Linked DNA regions of Homo sapiens: region 2 is linked to region 1. The links are contacts of gene promoters, found by promoter capture Hi-C in blood cells and fetal thymus (Javierre and others, 2016). All regions are on one chromosome and are shown on one strand. Each heading gives the region's core, a stretch centred on a gene start or on the middle of the fragment in contact. The rest is flanking DNA. Distances are from core to core; before and after follow the strand shown. Region 1 holds the start of FAM222A (family with sequence similarity 222 member A). Region 2 holds the start of PWP1 (PWP1 homolog, endonuclein).

Evidence for each region. The method cuts DNA at HindIII sites, captures the fragments that hold promoters and counts their contacts. A CHiCAGO score of 5 or more calls a contact.
Region 2: the fragment with the promoter of PWP1 here is called in contact with the fragment with the promoter of FAM222A in region 1 in 1 of 17 cell types (naive CD4 T cells); the score reaches 6.1 in naive CD4 T cells.

Annotation. Positions count from the first base shown.
Region 1 is chr12:109,711,968-109,715,735 of GRCh38, reverse strand. It overlaps FAM222A (family with sequence similarity 222 member A), which reads right to left and starts at 1,911. Exons shown (of 3, transcript NM_032829.3): 1 at 839-1,911. RefSeq lists silencers at 1,771-1,820, 1,851-2,180 and an enhancer at 2,886-3,449. The HindIII fragment of the contact is 3,633 bases long and covers 1-2,814 here.
Region 2 is chr12:107,683,281-107,687,048 of GRCh38, reverse strand. PWP1 (PWP1 homolog, endonuclein) reads right to left here and starts at 1,250. Exons shown (of 15, transcript NM_007062.3): 1 at 1,078-1,250. The coding sequence starts at 1,149. RefSeq lists enhancers at 912-961, 1,182-1,441. The HindIII fragment of the contact is 3,419 bases long and covers 1-1,594 here.

The DNA of each region.
Region 1 (3,768 bases), core at 662-3,161:
AGGCACAGGCCAGGCTACATGGGCAAAGCTCTGAACACCTGTCCTTGCGGGGAGGAGCATCAACAGGGACAGCTGGCACTGCCTCCCTCCCCCACCTTATGGGGCGCTAAGGATTTAGGTCAGAGGACTGCAATGGTAGGGGTGGGGGGAGTCCGCCTTCACCCCTCCACTACCCAAAGGCATCCAGCCCCGCCCCTTGTTACCACGACCCCGCCCCCTCCGGCCTTGGGTCAAGGCAAGTGGTGTTGCCACGGCAACCCCAGTGACATCAGAGGCTAAGGTTTGACGTCATGTCGTGCCCCCACTGGGGAACCTACCGTCCCTGCGAGTTATTTGTGGGAACGTGGTTTGAACGAGGGCTCTAAGGTCTAGCCCCATGGGGCACAATTCTCAAACGTGGCCACCTGCGTTTCTGGAACCCCAAATCCCCCTCTGAGGTGATTTCCCTTGAAGATCTCAGAGGCTGCTCGGGAGACCCTCAACGTTTTCCCATCCTGGGTGCCCCCCACCCCCCAGCCCTTCCAAGACACTGGAGTTCCCGGGGAATTTTCGGATGACACAGCCAATACCTTTGTTAGCTTTACGGGTGGGGTGACCTTTCCTCTCTGGCAACCAACCCGCCCAGGGTCCCGCGGAATCCGAATGGGCCCCCCAACCTCCACTCCCATCGGCTGGCCCATCTGAACAAGTTGTGTTTGGAGGGAGGAAAGGGGCGGACAAGGGTTATCTCTGCTTCAGGACCCCCAACAGCCTAGGACCCCTTCTGTCCAATCCTGGCTGCCCGGACGCCAGGGGGTGCCCCCAGCTCCAGCGCAGAACCCCGCCCCGCACAACTCACCGGATCAGCCAGGCCGTCGAAGGGCACCAGGTCTCAGCTACCACGACGCTCCGCTCGACGGGTCGCAGCCATGCAGGAGTGGCAGAGGCTGCCTGACGAAGCCCTCCTTGGGGGTCGATGCCTCTCTCCGGGTGGGAAGGGGCGCTGTCGGTGAGGGCTATCCTGGCGCCGGCCTGCGCCGTCCGAAGTCGGGGGGGAGGGGAGGTCTCCGTTCAGCAGGGGTCACGCCCGCCCCGGACGGGGGCCGCGCGGGCGCTCAGGCGACGCATCTTCGCCGGGGCCCGTGATCGCCACGTCCGGCGGGCGGCGCTGCGCCTCCCCTCGGGGCCCCGCTCAAGGCTGCAGCTCGGCCCGCGCCGCTCCCAGGGCGCCCTCTCCGCCCGCGCTGGGAGCCCGGCGGCCGCGGCCCCTTTCGCCAGCCCCAGCTGCAGCCTGTCTTTGTTGCTTCCTCTCGCTCGCCCGCCCGCCCGCGGCTTGCAGCCCCCGGGTTCGCCCCGAGGTGGAGGGATTGTCTCCTTCGGGGGTTGCACGCACCCGCAGCGGCCCCGGCTCCTCGCCGGACATACACCGGCCCCTGCAGGTTGCAAAGAACAGCGGCGAGAATGCACCGGCCCCTCCTCCTCCTGCTCTGAGCCCCGGGTGTGGGGGGAGGGGAAGCCGGCGAACAGCGGCGGCGGCAGCGGCGGCGGCGGCGGCAGCGGGCGACGCAAGCTCGGATGCAGCCTCGGGGGCCTCGGCGCTGAGAAACAGCCGATCCCAGTGGCGCAGGACGGACACGAGGACGGCCCGGGGGACTGTGCACCGGGTGTGCGAGCTCGCAAGCCGCAGCAGGGGCCGCGCGCGCTGGGCTCTCACGCGCCCATGGCCCCGGGCGGCGCGCGGGGGCTCCCGGGGCCGCAGCCTCGCGCCGTCTGGCGCGCGCCGGCGCCTCGCCTGGTCTCAGGCCCGGGTGCCGCGCGCCGCGCCCCACAGGCGCCGGGCCCGGCTGTCCGCCTCCCCCGGCCGGCGCGCGCAGCCTCTCCGCGGAGCAGCCGGCCAGGCAGTCCTGCCCGCTGCTCCGCTCTGGCCCGACTGACAGGCGCGAGCGCCGGCAGCAGCCCCCGCGTCTCGTCCCCCGCCCGCCCCCCGCGGCCCAGCCCAATCAGCGGCGGCTGAGAGGCGGTTACCAGGGTGACGCGGCACCGCGTCCTGCGAGGGGCGGAGCCGGGGGCCGCCACGCGCGCTTTTCGCGGCAAAATTCAAAGGCCGGCAGGGCGGCTCTCCAACCTCCTCCCCCAAGCAGGGACGAGGCGGAACTTGCCTCGCGAGGACTGCAACTCCCGGCATGCTGCGCGCCGGCGCCGGGTGGAGGGGCCCCGACTGGGGGCGCAGGGCGTGCTGGTTTTTGTAGTCCCACTAGGGGTGGCAAAACCAGTGTCATTTACTGATCACATATTTGGGACAAGGCACTGTATAAGTGCATTATCGGCATTATTTCATTTAATCTTGGCAAAAACCAACCTCATGAGGAATTTGTTAAAAATAACAACTATAGCTAACACTTATGTAGCAAAGTATTTTATCTAATCCTCACAACACCGTGTGAGTGGGTATTACTATCACCCCCATTTTACAGATGAGAAAACTGATACGGTAGGTACTATTATTATACTTCCAACTTACAGAGGAAACTGAGGTAAGGAGATGTGAAGTGACATGGTCCTGGATGTTTTTGTCCTAAGGCTTATTTTTGGCAGCGATGTGTTTTTGGCATCACAGTTGTGATCTGTGGAGCGCTAACTATATAACCCAGCACAGCGCTGAGCAATTTGCAAGCTACACCTTCTAGACGTACCCCACGCCCACAGGAGACAGGCACTAGCCTACTCCCCCACTTAATAGATAGGGAAACTGAGGCATAGTTTCACATCAACCTGGGGTTCAAATATGAATCTATCAAACTATACTGTGCTTTCCCTTTTACTTTTAAAGAAGCTTCCTGGGTTCTCACAGCCCATGGGCGGCCCGTCTAGCAGTCTCATTTACAGATGGGGAAATTGAGTCCTGGGTGGGGCAGTTCCCTCAGTTGCTGTGTGTCCATCACACAGCACTGTAGGAAGCCAGCTTTCCGGGATAATAACAAAGATCCCCACAGAAATGCAGAGCAGCAGTCAGACCCCCCACCCCTCAGGCTATGCCCGTGTGATACCTGGAGTCCCACCGAAACTGGGTGGGATTGCAGCCCTGCCCTTGCTGGTTGTTGGTCTTGGCCATTTACCTTCACGGGTCTGCGCCTCAGTTTCTTGTCTGTGAAATGGGGGGCATCATAATTCCTACCTTACAGCGTAGATTTGAGGGCAAAATGAATTCTTGCATGTAAAGGACTCAAAACACACATTAAGTGCTCAATAAATGCCCTCTGTACTCACCCGGGCTGGAGGGCTTTGGAGACCCTGGGGAGCGTATCCAGCGGACGGGCTGATTATAGACGGGCCCTAGCCTACTTCCAGGAGCCAACCCACCCCGCCGGGAGAGGCGCCCGCGGCGGACCTCCAGGGCCGGCCCAAGTGGGTCACCCGCCGCCTTATCTAGGACAGGAGCTGGCCCTGTTTCAGGCCTCTAAGCGGCTGCTCGGCGCGCTGTTCCCAGCAGCTCCGCTCTATTTCTCCGCGGCCGCCCCCATCTCCTCCCCTTCCCTCCCCAGGCTGAAGGTGGGGGTGGGGATTTACCTGGAAATGTGTTATGCCTCCAGCTGCTTCCCGCTCGGGCCAGCAGCCAGGGCTGCGGGGACGTCAGGGAGGGCGGCCGGGGCGACTGGATGGGTGGACCCAGCGTGTGGACAGGTGGGGAGACCAGACTTCAGCTGAGGACAGGGCGAGGGACAGTAACAAGCAAACCCTGGGAAATGAGAGAGATCGCGAAGAGGAGAAGAAGGCAGCAGTTCGCACCAC
Region 2 (3,768 bases), core at 1-2,500, 2.0 Mb after region 1:
ATACTATATGTGCACATGTCGACTCCATAAAGGCAGGGTCTTTTTCTATTTTTTTTTTTTTTTTTTTTTTTTTTTTTTTGAGACGGAGTCTCACTCTGTTGCCCGCCCAGGCTGGAGTGCAGCTGTGCGATCTCGGCTCACTGCAAGCTCCGCCTCCCGGGTTCACGCCATTCTCCTGCCTCAGCCTCCCGAGTAGCTGGGACTACAGGCATCCACCACCACACCCGGCTAATTTTTTGTATTTTTAGTAGAGACGGGGTTTCACCGTGTTAGCCAGGATGCTCTCGATCTCCTGACCTCGTGATCCGCCCGCCTTGGCCTCCCAAAGTGCTGGGATTACAGGCGTGAGCCACCGCGCCCGGCGGGACTTTTTCTATTTTGTTCATGCCTATCCCAGGACCCTGAACAATGCCTGGCCTACAGAAAGCACTTAGTATCCAATGAGGAAATTACTTAAGTAATCGTCACCTCTGCTACAGTCTCAGTCTCCAACTCTTGTAGGTTTTTCATGTGTTAGACATTTACCTCTCATCCTCCCTGCTACCATCAACATCTCACTTGGATTACTGCAAGAAATTCCCTATTCATCTCCCAGCCTCACGACATCTTAGCCTCCACACCAGTTTTTCTACACCACATTCATCCTCACTCCTTCAGACACGGAGCACAAGAGTGGAAAGTGGAGTTTTCATGCTCTCTTCCCAGTTATGCTTGAAAATGCACTTGGGTGCTAGTGAAGCTAGTGGTGTTGTCAAAAAGCCTTTTGGGGTATTACCCACCAAAAACAGCAGCCCACCCCTTTCCGGCCCGCTAAGTCCATGTGCGTGCGAATTTGGGAGTGGGGTTGGGCTTGAGGGTGGGAACAGTGAGAAGGCGCGGCCCTTGACTCTCCAGGCTCAGGCGAACCAGACCTTCTGAACTGCAGCTCTAGTCGCGACAATCCGGGCAAAGCCGCCCTCACCCCAGCCAGTCGCACCAGCCAACGCCCCGAGTTCCGGGTCCACGTTCCCCCAGCTGGGCGGACCCCCAGTGCCGTAAAGACGCTGCTCCCCTTGTCTCCCAGCGACCAGGCCTCACCTTGTCTGGTGTCTCTTTGGCCACGCCGCAGCGGACCCAGGCCACGCACGTCACCTGGCGGCTGCGGTTCATGGTCCTCAAGTCAAGGGCGTGTCACGCTAGAAACCAGGCTGCATAGGGAGGGACCACGACCGCACTGCTGCCACACGCTCAGGGATCTGCACAGGGCCGCTGCCAGGGCAGAGCGCATGCGCAGGCTCCTGTTTGGGCAGCGTCGGCGCTCATTTCAGACGTCATTCTGAGGCGCCGAATGAGAAATAGGAGGGGACAAAATGGAAGCGGAAGCAGCCGGGCGAGGAATCCACGTGGGCTGGTCTGGGCTGTGTGAAGTATAGAGAAAAGGCTTTTCAGGACTGCATGTGACGATGCCTGCGGGCTTTGTAAAGGCCAAGAAAATATTTGGGACTGTAGGGGTCAGTCAGAAGCAAAGTTTCACCAATCTTTATTTTGCTTGCAGTTCCGTAGACTTCAAGCTGACAAATGGCAGAGGTTTGTGGTTTGCGTTTTTTAAAAAGCTTTCTCCAAAATGAATTTGTCGTTTCACGGAGATCCCACCATTACATCTCATTACATCCCTAAATGTTACTTTCTCACCTTAAAACATTTAGCACCAAAAAAAAAAGTGAGAAAAAAACATTTAGCACCAATTATATACTAACTATGCAGTAGTGATTTAGTCTTGGCAAACACAAAGGGCTTACTTATGTTGAAGGCGCTGTTTTGAGTGCCGTATCACGTGATTACTTACCCCTTTGTGGGAGGTCTTATTTCCGTTTTACACCTGGGAAAACAGCGATCCTTCCAAAGGTCACACTGCTAGTAAGCGGTGCAGCTGGGATATGAACCCGGGCAGTGTGACTCCCTTGTATCTATGTCATGCTTCTCAGCTAAGATCAGTCATCTGTTAGAACTCGTGAGTGGCTGGACGTTTGTAGAATGGAAAATCTCAAACTAGCATCCCAGAAAAATCTGGGTTTTGATCTCTTGGCTGTGTGGCCCTGTCCTGGTCATTTACCCTCAATGCATCTACCTCTGAGAGAGGCAAGCAAAAGAAACAGGAAGGTGGCTGCTATGGGGAAACAGTGGCAAGGATAAACTGGCAGTACACATGGTCTTTCCCAGTGGCATTGTCAAACGGGGGGTGTCCACCTGTGGGCTCTATTCGGGGACCTTTTTGCAACACATTTATCTTTCTATACAGTATTTTACTTGGTTCTCACAACACTTTGTTTTAAAGATGAAGCTAGAGTCCCCAGTAGTCAAATACTTTCCTACTCAGATCACACACAGAGGAGCTGATACAACTATGAGTTCTGTCACCAACTCTACTCAGCCTAATGCGCTTGGCAATCTCCCTGCCTGAGGAGAGATCCTCCCAGAAGTAAATTGCTCATTGTTTGTGTAGGCAGATTATTTGTCCATTAAGACTTCTCCCCCTGCTCTGTTTCTGTAAGATGATTCTTCTGTGGTTTCTTTGCTTTTAACCCATTTTAGAAAGACCATATGGCAGATAATATTTTTCAAGGATGGCTGCAACAATAGAGTCCTTCACACATGTTTGTCTGCAACGTGATCTTGATATTCCTCCATCAAAGCACCCCCCCCCGCCCCCACCAACTTGAATCTGGGTAGTTGTAGGTCTGCTTTGGCCAATAAAGTATGACAGAAATGATGTTTCCAAGGTTAAGTCATAAATAGGATGCAGGTTTTGCTTCCCCACCACCACACCCACTTCTCCACTTCCACACCCCCCACCCACTCCCCCACTGCCCACCAGTAGAACACTAATGTTTGGAGCCCTGAGCCACCATATAAAGTTTGGCTACTGTGGTAGTCTGTTCTCACACTGCTAATAAAGACATACCCAAGACATGATAATTTATAAAGAAAAAGAGGTTTAATGGACTCACAGTTTCAGTTGGCTGGGGAAGCCTCACAATCACTGCAGAAGGCAAAAGAGAAGAAAGGCATGTCTTACATGGCAGCAGGCAAGAAGAGAGCATGTGCAGGGGAACTCCCCTTTATAAAACTATCAGATCTCAGCTGGGTGCAGTGGCTCATGCCTGTAATCCCAGCACTTTGGGAGGCCGAGGCAGTTGGATTACAAGGTCAGGAGTTCTAGACAAGCCTGGCCAACGTAGTGAAACCCCGTCTCTACTAAAAATATAAAACTTAGCCGGGCATGGTGGTGCATACCTGTAGTCTCAGCTACTTGGGAGGCTGAGGCAGGAGAATCACCTGAACCCAGGAGGCGGAGGTTGCAGTAAGCCGAAATCGCACTGCTGCACTCCAGCCCGGGCAACAGATCAAGACTCTGTCTCAAAAAATAAAAATAAATAAAAATAAATTAATTAATTAATAAAACCATCAGATCTCATGAGACTTATTATCATGAGAAAAGCACAGGAAAACGCCGCCCGTATGATTCAATTACCTCTCACTGGGTCCCTCCTATAACACATGGGGATTATGACAATTCAAGGTGAGATTTGGGTAAGGACACAGATCCCAAACCATATCAGCTACCCTGAGTCCACTATGCTGTTAGGAAACCAAACCACATGGAGAGACCACATGTGGTACTCCAGTAGACAGTTGTAGTTTTTGAGTTAACCCAGACCTGTAAATGAAAGTGCCTTTAGGTGAATCCAGCTCCCAGACATTGATTCACTCCCAGCGTTTGAGCTTGCT